Linked DNA regions of Homo sapiens: region 2 is linked to region 1. Evidence: promoter capture Hi-C in 16 types of primary human blood cells and fetal thymus (Javierre and others, 2016). All regions are on one chromosome and are shown on one strand. Each heading gives the region's core, a stretch centred on a gene start or on the middle of the fragment in contact. The rest is flanking DNA. Distances are from core to core; before and after follow the strand shown. Region 1 holds the start of GCSIR (GPR55 cis regulatory suppressor of immune response RNA). Region 2 overlaps SPATA3-AS1 (SPATA3 antisense RNA 1).

Region 1 (7,704 bases), core at 3,450-5,949:
TTATGAAACAAAAGACTACCAAATACCACTGAGAGTCTCTGCATGCTCTTCTCCTCTTCCTGTTGCATAACAAACCATCCCAAAACTTAGTGGCCTGACACAGTGGTTTATTATTTTTCCCGAGTCTGTGAGTTGCCTGAGTTCAGCTGGATGACCGAGGGGTCCCCGTGGGATAACCGCACCCTCTGCTGTATGTTCATCTGGGAGCTCAGCTGCGGTCCAAGCAACCAAGATGGCCTCTCACCCTCCAAGGGCCTCGCTCCACGTGGCCTCTAACCATTAATGGTCTAGCCCAGCCCTCCTTACAGCTTGTCAATTGAGCTCCAAAAGAGGGGAAGCAGAGGCTGACCATCCTTTAAGACCTGGCACCACAAATCCCAGAATGTTACTTCATTGCATTCTGTTGGTCAAAGCAAGTCACAAAACCAGTTCCGATTCAAGGGGAGGGAAAGACCCTGCAGATGGGGAGCAGCTTGCATGCTCAGGGATGCCAAGAACTGTTGGAAACTCAGACATCATCCGAGCACTCCCCGCCATCCCTCTCCCCTCAGTATTTCATGGGGGACATTAAATGCCTGAATTAGTGCAAAGACACACCTATTCTTAGAACCAAAGACAATCTTGAAAATATGTCAATTTTCCATAAATTAGCCAATCTTAAACTCTACTAATTAGCCAATCCAGGTAATTCCTATCTTGGGTTTCTCTGTTCTGCTTTCTAATTGTACCATATATCCAAGAATCCCTGAGGAAGTTTTGCTTGGATCTGAACACTGTGAAAGTGGTAACAAAATACACATATTATTCTCTGACTTGCTTCCCCACCCTCCAAACCTTTTAAGCCGTGTCCATGTTGAAGCCTATGGTAATATTTCATTCATTTTTACTGTTGTATATTAGTTCATTGTATGAATATACAGCTTAATACCTATGAAACAATGACTAACCATGGCTCTTTGGATTTTTTTCTGATTTTTTTTTTTTTTTTTTACTATCAGAACGCTTTCATGAACATTTCTTTGATGGGGTTCCTGGGGCACCTCAGCACTGGGTCACACAGTGTGCAAATATTCAACTCATAAAATTCTAGCAGATTGTTTTTTGTAAGACATTGAACCAATTTACACTTCCAGCTGCACCGCATAGACATTCTACTCGTTCCACATCCTTGTCAACACTTCATGTTAGCAATACGTTTTTTGCCAATGGATAGGAAATAAAATGGTATTTCATTATGGTTTTAGTTGTGTCTCCTCGATTACTAGAAAAGTGGGGCCGGTTTCACATGTTTATTGAACCCTCAAATTTCCTTTCCTGTAAAATGCCGACTTGCTTTCTTTGGCCTATTTTTCTATTGGTTGCTTTGTTTTCTTACTAATTTGTAGGAGTTATTTATATATTTATACATTTTATATTTTACATATTTTCATTGATGGGTGGTAAGTATCTTACCCAAGTTAGTTCATGGCTTGCCTTCTCACCTTTTTTTTTTTTTTACAAACAGCATCACGTGTACATAGCTTTCTCACTTTCTTTGTGGTCACTTTGATGAACAGAAATTATTGATTTTAATGCAGTCAAATTTATTCATCTTTTTCCTTGTGGTTAGGGCCTTTTATATCATTTCAGAAATCTTTCCCATCCTAAGGTTGAAGAGGCATTATTCTACAATTTCTTCTATTCATTTTAGAGTTTTGTATTTTACATTTTTGAATCCCCAGGAATTTAATCCCTGGTCTGATGTGAGGTAGGAATAACGATTTGTTCTGTTTTTGTTTTTCCTTCCCCACTGAGTTACAGTATATGTCTGCAAGGATCAAGTTTCTCTATATGTAAGGTCTACTTCTGGGCTTTCTGTTTTGTTCATCAGGTCTATCCGTTGGACCATAACCACACTTAAAGTAAGTCTTGCTACCTGGTACTAAAAGTTTCCTACCTTGATTCTCTCCAGCAGTGCCATGCCTATTCTTGGCCCTTTTTGTTCATATGCATTTTAGAAACAACTGCCAAGTTTCATGGAAAATTCTGTTGAGGTTCTTTTTTTTTTTTTTTTTTTTTGTGACGGAGTCTCGCTCTGTCACTCATGCTGGAGTGCAGTGGCGTGATCTCTGCTCACTGCAAGCTCCGCCTCCCAGGTTCACGCCATTCTCCTGTGTCAGCCTCCCAAGTAGCTGAGACTACAGGCACCTGCCACCGTGCTCAGTTAATTTTTTGTATTTTTAGTAGGGATGGGGTTTCACCATGTTAGCCAGGATGGTCTCAATGCCCTCATGATCCGCCCACCTCAGCCTCCCAAAGTGCTGGGATTACAGGTGTGAGCCACCGCGCCTGGCCTTCTGTTGAGGTTCTTAATGGACTTATATGAAATCTATAGATCCACTTGGGGAGAATTGAAATCAGGATATTGAGTGCTCTCACCCATGAACATGGTATTTTTAAAATCTGCATTGTTAATGTCTTCCAACATAGTTTTATACTTTCCTCAGTAGGGGTCTTACAAATCTTTCATTACATTGATTCCTATGTCCCTTATATTTGTTGTTATGATGTTTAATAATTATACCTTTGTTGCCAATGTGTAGAAGTATAATTTATTTTTGAGTATTGATCCAGCAAACTTGCCGGGCTGTCTTTCTTATTCCACAAAGTTCTCTGAGGAAATTTTTTTTTTTTTTTTTTTTTTTGAGACAGAGTCTCACTCTATCACCCAGGCTGGAGTACAATGGTACAATCTAGGCTCACTGCAACCTCCGCCTCTAGGGTTCAAGCGATTCTCCTGCTTCAGCCTCCCGAGTAGCTGGAATTACAGGCCCATGCCACTACACCTGGCTAATTTTTGTCTTTTTAGTACAGACGGGGTTTTGCCATGTTGGCCAGGCTGGTCTCGAACTCCTGACCTCAAGTGATCCACCTGCCTCAGCCTCCCAAAGTGCTGGGATTACAAGCGGGAGCTACAGTGCCCAGCCTTGTGCTTTGTAGACAAGCAATTCTGGTAACTGATTATGAGTAAATTTTGTTTCTTCCATTCAAATAATTAAAACTTTTATTTATTTTTCTTGTGCTATCTTACTGGGTAGGAGCTCTGGCACCATGGTGATAGCCACAAATCTTGTTTTGTTCTTGATTTAAAAGGAAATTCACCTTGAATATAGTTTAGCTGTAAATATTAGAAGAATACTCTTTGAGATTTAAGAAGTTCTCTATTCTTAGTTTTCAAAGTGTTTTTATTTTTAATCAAGGATTGATATTAAATTGTTTTATCAAATGTTTTTTCTGCATCTATTCATATGTTTGCATATCTGTTAATGTGGCGAATATTGCTAACTGATTTAGTCATGAGGTATTTTCTTATATCTATGCTACTGGATTCCATTTGCTAACATTTTGTTTAGGAATTTTAGATATATGTTTTTTGTAACATTGGCCTGTAATGGGAGTAAATTAGTTTGACAAAATCAAATTTTAAAATGCAATGTTTTTGGCCCAGAATGTATCCTATGGATGTACTCCATAGGATATGCAAAAGTATATGTACAAGCATATTTATTGTTATAATAGCAAGAAACTAAAGACAAATGTCCTTTAGTTGGAGACTTGGTATTTTAAAAAAGTACAGTATTTTGTTGCTATTACAAAGAATGAGGTAGATCTATTTGTGCTGATGTGTAAAGTTCTCCGAAATCTATAATTAGGGTAAAGCAGGTGGCAAGAGCAAGAATATATATTTATCTCTATCCCGTTTGTGAATTTTTTAAGTGATAGCGCTATGGCTGTGCATGTGCTATTTCTGGAAGCGCACTCAAAGCCTTGTAACACCAGTTCCCTCTGGAGAGCAGGGATGGCAGGAAGCTGTAGGACTACGTCTCTTTCTACACCTTTTTATAATTCATAAGCATGAGCATGTATTGGTCTCTGTACACCTGCCCCTGGGCTTGAGGAGGCCCTGCTGGCTGCAATGTCTCACTTTCACCTAACTGCACGGAGTCTCAGCCACTTCCCTCCAGCCCTCGAGGACTGTCACCCATCCTAGAATGGAGGCCTTGCATTAGGCCCGGGTTTGGCCAGAAGAATAGAGCAGTTGGAAATGTTAAGTTGACATAAATAGGAAGCTCTGTAACCTCGTGCAAGTGTTGTCTTGGAAACCAGAGCCTGGGCGGTCTCCATGGAAACCGTGCTCAGCCTTCTGCCTGAAGGAGTTACCACCCACTGGTGCTGGAGTGTTACTTATCAGGGACCTCAGAGCTCCAATAACTGCTTAGGGAATGATGATGGACTGGTCCCTGCCCACCCTGGCCATGTCAGGTGTGGGGCCCTGGGCACCTCCAGCTCTCTGCCTGGGAAAGAAAAAGAGCCCATTTCCATGGGACGTGCCCTCATGGGGAGGCACAGCAGACCACCCAAGGCAGCACATGCAGTGTCCCCGAAGTAAGGAGGGAGTCCTGTGTCCCGAGGTCCCGGGGATCTGGACTCTGCCATTGTCCCCTGGTGCATCTGTACAGCTGTGGTGGGCTAACATCATCTCTGGGCTCCAACTTGCCCTTCTGTAAAATGGGGAGTTTGGACCAAGTCATTCTGAAGGTCTTTTCCAGCTTTAATGACACGTGTTTTGCATGTGACCTGGCAGCACAGGGTTCAGAGGAGGGAGAGATCAGAGTGACTAGTGCAGGCTTCCTGGGGAACCATTTGAGCTTTGAAGGTGGGGAAGAGGAATGTCAGAGAGTGGGCAAAATACAACAGGAAAGGTCCAAATTCACCCTCTGAGGGCCCGGGGCACGGGGGCAGCCTGCTCTCCTCCTGGGGCCCTGTTCCCTGTGGGGACTGGAAGAGAGGCTTTGAGTCTAGGGCCTGGGGCAGCCAGGACTGACGGGGGTGCAGTCCTAGAAGGGTCGGCAGTCACGGTGGCCCACCATGGCATCTCCGTATCCTTGCTGCATGCTGCACCCACTCCAGCTGCCAGAGCACGGAGGCAGAGACGTGGGAGCCGATGAAGGTCGCACGCCAGCCTCCCACCTGTGAGACAAAGGGCCCTGTCACTGGAAGCCACGTCCAGCCTGGCCCCGCAGGAGCCAGGGCTCTGCGCCTAACGGAGGACTGATGGGAAAGGGAAGGCTGGCAGCAGTGAGGTAATGGGGTGGGGGGTGGGGGTGGGAGGCAGGGGGAGGTGGGGAGGACAGGGAGGGGAGGGAGGGAAGGGGAGGGACTTTAGCCAGCACGCTTGTCCCACACTGAGCGAGTGCCCACAGTGTTCAAGCAGTCAGTATGCCAGCAGTTTTTCATTGATTACTTTTGTTCGTGTCTCGCGTTATCTCTGGGGTGAGTATGAATTTCATAGCCACAAACTCAGGTGTCCAAAGTATCTTTATTGGTATCTTTATTTTTCTATAATAGTGTGTTTTGTGTAATAATCTAGTTTTCAAACCTTCCCTTAGTCTAGTGGCAGAATGTGTAATCTTGATATTTTCTAGGTAAACTCGGTCATCACTTCAGTTTGCCCTTTTCAAAGATATTAATTTTTGCCCTCCCTTCCCCACCAGGGGCCAATCATCTGAATCACGTTCCTGTATTCAGGATTTGCCCCTCCAAAACAGTTTTGATGGGAGACACCAGCCACCTACTATTATGCAGCCATGCACCACATAACGACGTTTCAGGCAACAATGACTGCACATACCACAGTGGTCCCGTAAAATTACAATGGAGCTGAAAAATTCCTATTGCCTAGTGACGTCACAGCCATTGTAAGGTCAGAGTGCAACACATCACTCATGTGTTTGTGTTGATGCTGCTGTAAACAAACCTACCGCACTGCCAGTCATATAAAAGTATAGCCCATACAATTATGTGTAGTACTTAATACTTAATAATAATAAACAACTATGTTGCTGGTTTACGTATTTACTACACTGTGTTTTTAATTGCTAATAAGAGTGTACTCTTTTTAGTTATTAAAAAAAAAGTTAACTGTAAACAGACTCAGCAGATCCTTCAGGAGGTTTCCAGAAGAAGGCATTGTCATCATAGGAGGTGACAGCTCCATGCATGCATTGCCTCTGAAGTCCTTCCAGTGGGACAGGATGTGGAGGTGGAGATGGTGATACTGATGGTCCTGACCCTATGTAGGCCTAGGCTCATGTGTGTGTTAGTGTCTAGTTTTTAACTAAAAAGTTTAAAAGTTAAAAAAAAAATTTTTAATAGAAAAAAAGGGGGACTGGGCGTGGTGTAATCCCAGCACTTTGGGAGGCCGAGGCAGGCGGATCACCTGAGGTCAGAAATTCGAGATCAGCCTGGCCGACATGGTGAAGCCCCGTCTCTACTAAAAACACAAAAATTAGCTGGGCGTGGTGGTGCGCACCTGTAATCCCAGCTACTTGGGGGGCTGAGGGAGGAGAATAGCTTGAACCCAGGAGGCGGATGTTGCAGTGAGCCGAGACACACCATTGCACTCCAGCTTGGGTGACAAGAGGGAGACTCTGCCTCAAAAAAAAAAAAAAAGAACAAAAGACTAAGGGTACAAAGAAAATACTTTGTGAAGCTCTATGTGTTGGTGTTTTATGCTAAGTATTATTATAGAAAAGTCCAAAGGTTTTTAAAAATTGAAAAGTTTATAAAGGAAAAAAAAGGTACAGTAAGCTAAGGTTACATTACTATTGAGGAAAGAAAAAATCTTCCGTAAATGTGGTGTAGCCTAAATGTACAGCGTTTACAAAGTCTACAGCAGTGGTCGGTAATGTCCCAGGCCTTCCCATTCACTCACCAACCACTCACTGACTCACCCAGAGCAACCTCCAGTCCTGCAAGCTCCATTCATGGTAAGCGCCTTACACAGGTGTACCATATTTTTATTTTTCCTACCATATTTTGAACGATATTTTTCTATGTTTAGATACACCATTGTGTTGCGATTGCCTACAGTATTCAGTACAGAAACATGCTGCACAGGCTTGTGGCCTAGGAGCAACAGGATAACCCGTATAGCCCAGGTGTGCAGTAGGCTATGCCATGTAGGCTAACATGTATAGCCCAGGTGTGCAGTAGGCTATGCCATGCGGGTTTGTGTAAGTGCACCCTACGATGTTCACACAATGAAACTGCCTGACAATGCATTTCTCAGGACATATCCCTGTTGTTAAGCTGAATCTGTTTTTCCCAGTGCCCCTTGGGGCTGGAGTCAAGCATGTGACCAGGCTCAGCCAATCAGATGTTTCCTCTCTGTATTAGTCCATGTTCACACTGCAATGAAGATTCTACCTGAGACTGGGTAATTTAGAAAGGAAAGAGGTTTAATTGACTCACGGTTCCACGTGGCTGGGGAGGCCTCTGGAAACTTACCATCGCGGCCGAAGGCGAAGGGGAAGCAAGGCACGTGTTAGTCTCACATGTGGCAGGAGAGAGAGAGAGAGCACGGCGGGGAAGTGCCAGACACTTATCAAACAACCAGAACTCATGAGTGACGACTCATGGGAGAAACTGCCCCCCGATCCAATCACCTCCCACCAGGCTCCTCCCTTGATGCGGGGATTACAATGTGAGATGAGATTTGGGTGGGGACAAAGAGCCATACCATATCACACCCAGACCATGCCATAGGGACAAGTGACTCAGGAAGGGGGACAGTGAAAAATGCATCCTGGTAGAGGGGACAACAGCAACACAGAGTCTCGTGGGCATCAGGAAGGTGGTGGCATCATCTCCACATTCTGGAGC
Region 2 (7,772 bases), core at 1,954-4,453, 93 kb after region 1:
ACACAAGAACACTAGAGGCCAGACAGGAGGGGACAGCCTGCATTGTGTCCTTCACCCTTATTTGGACCTTCGCCCTATTGCCTTCTCACACTCTCAGAATCCAGAGGTCATGCCAGTTCAAAAGGAGCCGGTATCATGGAGACTGGGGCTCAGAAACCAATACCCCCAAATATGGCTCTGTGACATGCTGAACTGAAGAAGAAGCCACAAGATTTCTCTGACCTCCCCCAACCCCCGCCTCTGTCTCAGTCTGTCTCTCTCAAAGCACAGAATGAGGTTGTTCTCTGAAGTTCCCTTATCTGCCTAAAGCCCAGACTCACTAAAGAAGAAAACAATTACTCCTGGTCCCTTCCTAAATTTTCATGAACTGAACTCATATCCAGGAAGAAAGACTGACATCTATCAACACAGCTAGGCAGACTTTTGTCACAAACCGTTGTATACTCTGCAGGCACAACAGACTTTGTCCCAGGCCATTGTATGTTCTTCAAGCCCATTGAATTTCTCTAAAAATCACTTAAACTAAAATCATCCACACTGCCCCATCTCCCTTTCCCCTAAGAAGAAGGGTATATAAGCATATGTACCCCGCTGGGTTATCGAATAATCACTCTGCTACAGTTCCCCATGCTTGACACGTTAAAATAAATTCATAGTGTTTTATCTAATTAACCTGCCTTTTGTGAGTTGATTTTTGTGCAAACTTTCTGAGAGCGAAGGGGAAGTTTTCACGGGTATTGCATGGTCTTCTGAAATAACTAGCATTAATATAGATTAGACAAAAACCAACCCTGAACAGGTTCCATGTGACAGCAGAATGTTCTGAAATGGGAAGGAATGAATGTGAGCATGAGAGGTCTGTGTGAACGGATAATGAGGTTCGGGGTAAGATGCAAAGGAGGATATATATTATACCATCTTTCATATGGAAAGAAGAGAAAATGAATACGTGTATGTGTTATTTTTGTGAAAAGAAATACAGTATTAAACAGACACTAATGGAAGGCATTCACCGTGGAGGTGGGAAGGAATGGGGTAGAAGGGATAGGAACGGCAGTGAGGCTTCTCTTGTATATCTCATATCATTGTCACTTTTTATTTTTTTATTTTTTCAGAGACGGGGTCTCGCTCTCTCACCAAGGTTGGAGTGCAGTGGCTCACTGGAGCCTCAGCCTCCTGGGCTCAAGCAATCCTCCTGCTTCAGCCTCCCAGTGGCACACGCCACCGTACCCAGCTATTTATTTATTTATTTATTCATTTATTTATTTATTTATTTATTTTTGTAGAAATGAGGTCTTCCTACGTTGCCCAGGCTGGTCTCAAACTCCTGGGCTCAAGCAATTCTCCCACCTCGGCCTCCCAAAGTGCTGGGATTACAGGTGTGAGCCACTATTCTCAACCCATTTTTACTTTTTAACTACATAAATGTTTCACGTATTTTAAAAATAAAATTAAATGTTAAAAAGGTGGGATAAAGAATACCCTACAATAGAATGCAAAAGAAGGAAATCAAACTGATAACGCCTCAAACTGATACCACAACCACACAGAGCAAACACTCTGATTGTGGAGAAGGATCTGTTCTAAGAACAGAAGAACTATAGAAAAACTTCTATTTAGTATGTTTACTGTTAGCAGTAATATTGGTCTTGTAATTCTGAAACTCTTTTGTGCATGTATAGTGGAAAGCAAATAAGCAAATATATATTTTACTGACGGGGAAAAAAGATACTAGTAGTCAGTAAAGAAGTGAAAGAAAAACTGTAATGTTAAATTTGAGTAGGAAATATATCAGTTTGAACTTGTAATTTTTTTTAAAATGAGTTTTCTAATCCTGTCCACTGAATGACAGCCGAGTAGCAATGATCGCATATATCACCAGGTTCTTTCTTTCTCTATACCATTCACCACTAAAGGCACCAGGGCTCGTTAGAGAAATGGTAGATTCTAGGTCAGGGGTGAAAATGTACAACGTGAGCATGGAATCTCTTGTCACACCAGAAAGCAAAACAGTTTTGGAAGATAAATGTGATCATGTCAAAAGGATTCAGGAGCTGACCTGAGGGCTCCCACTGCTCAAATGTGGGATGATTTGAACATCAAAATGAATAACTGTAGTTTCAATTATAGCATTTTTAAAACTCCACGAACCCACAGTGATTAATGTTTTTAATATAGTGGGATTTGGAAATTCTTACAGAAAAAAAGGCCAGCTAGTAAATGTAGCAGGAATAAAAGAATGAAAAACTACCATTTTCCAACCTCCAATGTAATGCTTCCTTCAGGTAAGCATCACCAAGAGTTGCCAAAACTGTTTGGTGACTTGGATATTCAGTTAATCCTGTGACCATGTGAAGATTCTAAAAATTACTTACAAAAGGGGAAGCAGAGTGAGGATTAGTGATCAAACTCAGAATGACCAAGAGTGGCTGACATTATGTACTCCAGATGTGATGCCTGACATTATTTACTCCAGATGTGATACCTGACATTATTTACTCCAGATGTGATACTGACATTATGTACTCCAGATGTGATACCTGACATTATTTACTCCAGATGTGATACCTGACATTACTTACTGCAGAAGTGATACTGACATTATTTACTCCAGATGTGATGCCTGACATTATTAACTCCAGATGTGATGCCTGACATTATTTACTCCAGTTGCGATACTGACATTATTTACTCCCGATGTGATACCTGATGTTATTTACTCCAGATGTGATACTGATGTTTTTTACTGCAGATGTGATACCTGACATTATTTACTCCAGATGTGATACTGACATTATTTACTCCAGATGTGATGCCTGACATTATTTACTCCAGATGTGATAACTGACATTATTTACTGCAGATGTGATACTGACATTATTTATTCCAGATGTAATGCCTGACATTATTTACTCCAGGTGTGATACTGACATTATTTACTGCAGATGTGATACCTGACATTATTTACTCCAGATGTGATATTGACATTATTTACTCCAGATGTGATACTGACATTATTTACTCCAGATGTGATACCTGACATTATTTACTCCAGATGTGATGCCTGACATTATTTACTCCAGATGTGATACTGACATTATTTACTCCAGATGTGATACTGACATTATTTACTCCAGATGTGATACTGACATTATTTACTCCAGATGTGATACCTGACATTATTTACTCCAGATGTGATAACTGACATTATTTACTCCAGATGTGATAACTGACATTATTTACTCCAGATGTGATAACTGACATTATTTACTCCAGATGTGATATTGACATTATTTACTCCAGATGTGATGCCTGACATTATTTACTCCAGATGTGATGCCTGACATTATTTACTCCAGATGTGATGCCTGACATTATTTACTCCAGATGTGATAACTGACATTATTTACTCCAGATATGATACTGACATTATTTACTCCAGATGTGATACTGACATTATTTACTCCAGATGTGATACTGACATTATTTACTCCAGTTGTGATGCCTGACATTATTTACTCCAGATGTGATATTGACATTATTTACTCCAGATGTGATACTTGACTGAGAAGTCTACAGTGGCACCTATGCAGTACAGAACTCTGGCCAAAGATATTCAACCTGCATCTAATCTTGTGTAAGCAATCAGATTAACCCACATATGGGACACTCTACAAGACAACTGTCCTGGACTCTTTATCAAAAACTAATTTCACATAAACAAAGAACAACAACAACAATAAAAAGGTGAAAGACTGTTTCAGATGAAAAGAGACTGAAGAGCCATAACAACCAAATATCATACATGATCTTGATTGGATCCTGGATAGGAAAAAAAAATCCAGCATTAAAAGCTCTTCCGGGGACAACTGTAGAGATTTGAATACAGATAGTACACTGGGTGCTATTATGGTTGTGATCATGGTATTGTGGTTTTGTGGGAGAATATCCTTATTAGGAGATGCTGAGATATCTAGAAGTGAAGTGTCAAGATGTCAGCAACTTGCTTTCAAATTGCTCAGCAAAATAAAAGTATGTGGAAATATACAAAGACAGAGAGAGACCAACAGAGACAAAGCAATTGTGGCAAAATGTTAACAGTTGGAGAATCCAGGGTAAGTTCATTGTACTCTTCTTTGAACTTTTCAGAATGTTTGAAAATTTCAAAATAAAATGTGAGGGGGAGGGGAGGGAGTTGCAGGGTGGATAGAGAAGGTTGGGATAGAGCTAGCTGCCAGACCCAAACCATCTGCCACCAACACAGGGAGTTTAAAATGGCCCTCTAAATTACAATAGACTCATCTTCGTTTTGAAATCTTCCTAGGACGGGTGCAGAGGCTCATGTCTGTAATCCCAGCTACTCAGGAGTCTGAGGCACAAGAATCACTTGAACCTGGGAGGCGGAGGTTGGAGTGAGCCTCGATCATGCCACTGCACTCCAGCTGGGGTGACAGAGCAAGACTCTGTCTCAAAAAAAAAAAAAAAAAAAGAAAAAGAAAAACAGAAATCTTCCTAAAAGGAAGAGAAAGCTATACTACACTTTCCTCGAACCTCAAAGCCCCCACTGCTTATAGAAACTTTGAACCCAGTACCCACTGGAAAATAATGAATGGGAAACACACCTGGTAAACACAGTCCAGGTAGAGAGGAAGAGCCTCCCGATGCCCCCAGCCCTGGGTAGGAATCACCAAACCCTACCCCCCAGTTACCAGGCCTGTGAAGCCTCTGGCTTGTCCCAGCTTTGCACTCTTATGGGGAGGGGTGGGGAGAGCCCATCTACCACGCCCGTGTGTCTCCTGTCTTATCATCTAGGACATTCTTACATGGACCTCAGGCACTACTGGGGAAGGCTTTATTCCTTTTCAACACCATCCTCACTCAAAACTGCATTCCTTCATTCATTTGCTTATTTATTCAATGATTTGGCAAGTATTTATTGAACACCAGTGATGCACGAGGCACTGTTTTAGGAACCAGGGACACGACAAGGAATAAGCAGCCGTGGCATCTGTCTTCTGCGGAGCTCACAGGCAAATTGCAACTGTGACAAGTACCACAAAGGGGAGGAACAAGGTGCCCATCAAAGCTGGTGGCATTTGTGTGACAAGCAGGAAATACAATCAACAGGCTTTGGGGATGGGCTGGGTTTGGCGGACGATGAGAAGGAGTGTCAAGAGACACTCCCAGGGTTCTGACTAGTATAATTGGACAGGCAGTGGTGTTCTTCACCAGGACATCCTGGAAGAGGCCTGCAGTGGAGAAAGAGGCGACTCACACCCATGCAGGCCACGGGAGCACAGGTCAGGCACGGAAAGGAGAGGCCTGGGATGTGGTGTGGGTGGGTGGATTGCCTGTGGATTGGTGGTTATGGAAGTTATGTGTAGCAGGGGCCTGTTTTGCGCCTCCACCAGAAACTTCTGCCACTCCCAGGAGGACCACACAGAAGGTCTTCAGTCTCATGCAATTTCCTTTGATTTTGCTCATCTTTGTGCTCAGGAGCAGATCTGGGTCGCATCCTATCCCCCAGGTGACAAGGCTCATCTGGCCTGCTAGCCAGGAGGGTGCCTTTCCTTTGCCTCCAAAAGCAAAGTGGTGGGGGTGGGGGAGGGAACAGCTTGGCAACACAGATACACGTGCACACACACACGCACTCATATGCCTGATCTTTTTCTTTTAGGATTTGCTACCCTAGAGGTGTCTGATTAGCTTTACAAAGGTTAGAGATCATTTTATTTTGCCCAAATTTAGTCAAGGGAAAGCCCAGTGCAATTCGCCCTCAGTTACCCCCTGGTTCCACATCCAAGATTTCAATCAACCATGGATCAAAAATATTTGAAAAAAGAAAAGCAATTTAAAAATAACAACAGGCCAGACACAGTGGCTCACACCTGCCATCCCAGCACTGTGGTGGGAGGATCACTTGAGGCCAGGAGTTTGAGACCAGCCTGGACAACACATAATGAGATCACAGCTCTACAAAAACCAAAAAAACAAAAATTAGCCAGGTGTGGTGGCACGAACCTGTAGTCTCAGCTACTCGGCAGGCTGAGGTGGCAGGATAGCTTGAGTCCAGGAGTTTGAGGCTGCAGTGAGCCATAATCATGTCACTACACTCCAGCCTGGGCAACAGACTGAGACCTCATCTCCAAATTTTTTTTTTAATAATAGCAACAATAGGCCAGGCACGGTGGCTCACATCTGTAATCCCAGCTCTTTGGGAGGCTAAGGTGGGAGGATCATGAGGTCAAGAGATCGAGACCATCCTGGCCAACATGGTGAAACCCCATCTCTACTAAAAATACAAAAATTAGCTGGGCGTGGTGGCATGCACCTGTAGTCCCAGCTCCTCAGGAGTCTGAGGCAGGAGAATCGCTTGAACCTGGAAGGCGGAGGGTACAGTGAGCCAAGATCATGCCACTGCACTCCAGCCTGGCGACAGAGCGAGACTCTGTCTCAAAATAATAATAATAAATAACACAAATTTTAAAACTAATACAGTACAATAACTATTTACACAGCACTTACATTGTATTAGGTATTACAAATAATCTAGAGATGATTTAAAGTATACAGGAGAATGTGCATAGGTTATTTACAAATACTATGCCATTTTATATCAGAGACTTGGACATCCTTGAATTTTGGTACCTGCAGGAGTCCTGGAACCAAACCCTTTAGGATACTGAGGGACAGCTATAATTGCCCTGGAAAATGGAACCCTTCCCCCAACTCCCATCCCCCACAGTCTCCTAAAAACAAGACATTTTTGGTACAAGTATATTTTATGTGGAACGTATCAACAGGATGGAGTCCCACTTCCAAATGGACACAGGGCAATACGGAGCACAACAGGGCATGTGTGGAAGAAGTGTCCTGGGGGTGCAAACCCTCGGGAATTAAAAATGGGATTGGGAGGTGTATTTGTTCCTGGGGGCTCCTGCAGCAGATGACCTCAAACAGCAGAAACTTACTCTCTTACAGCTCTGATGGGCCAAGGGTCCAAGATCAAGGTGTCAGCAGGGCCACACTCCCTCTGGAGGCTCTAAGAAGAGTCTGCTCCTGCCTCTTCCAGGCCATCCTGGCTTGTGGCTGCAACTCTCAAGTCGCTGCCTCTGCCTTCACATGGCCTTCTCCTCTTCCATCTCTGTGTCTCTCCTCTGCGCGTCTCATATAAGGACATTCATCCTGGGATTTACAATCCGTCCAAGATAATGATCCCAAGAATCATTTCATCTCAAGATCTTTAACTTGAACCGGGCACAGTGGCTCATGCCTATAATCTCAGCATTTTGAGAGGCCGAGGCAGGTGGGTCACTTGAGCCCAGGAGTTCAAGACCAGCGTGGGCAACTTAGGGAGACCTCGTCTCTACAAAAAATACACACAAAAAATTAACCAGGAGTGGTGGTGTGCAACCCTAGTCCCAGCTACTCGGGAGGCTGAGGCCAGAGGATCGCTTGAGCCTGGGAGGTTGAGGCTGCAGTGAGCCGTGATTGTGCCACTGCCTTCCAGCCTGGATGACACAGTGAGACCCTATCTCTCTCACACACACACACACACACACACACACACACACACACGATCCTTAAGACCAGCCTGGGCCACATAGGGAGCTCCACACAGAGCAGGTGCTCATTCAATGTTGTAAATTACATTTGTAAAGACACTTTTTCCAAATAAGGTCACTTACATTTGTAAAGACGCTTTTTCCAAATAAGGTCAAAGACCCTTTTTCCAAATAAGGTCACATTTCTGGGTCCCAGGAATTATAATG

What was found. The method cuts DNA at HindIII sites, captures the fragments that hold promoters and counts their contacts. A CHiCAGO score of 5 or more calls a contact.
Region 2: a contact is called between a fragment that was not itself captured here and the fragment with the promoter of GCSIR in region 1, in 5 of 17 cell types (M2 macrophages, M0 macrophages, M1 macrophages and 2 more). The highest score is 7.6, in M2 macrophages.

Annotation. Positions count from the first base shown.
Region 1 is chr2:230,881,847-230,889,550 of GRCh38, forward strand. GCSIR (GPR55 cis regulatory suppressor of immune response RNA) reads left to right here and starts at 4,700. Exons shown (of 4, transcript NR_038238.1): 1 at 4,700-5,123. RefSeq lists an enhancer at 4,063-4,132. The HindIII fragment of the contact is 18,371 bases long and covers 1-7,704 here.
Region 2 is chr2:230,976,741-230,984,512 of GRCh38, forward strand. It overlaps SPATA3-AS1 (SPATA3 antisense RNA 1), which reads right to left. Exons shown (of 6, transcript NR_033879.1): 6 at 7,628-7,772. Among named protein-coding and RNA genes, the nearest start is that of SPATA3-AS1, 15 kb to the right of the region's middle. RefSeq lists enhancers at 329-378, 5,010-5,149. The HindIII fragment of the contact is 9,305 bases long and covers 1-7,772 here.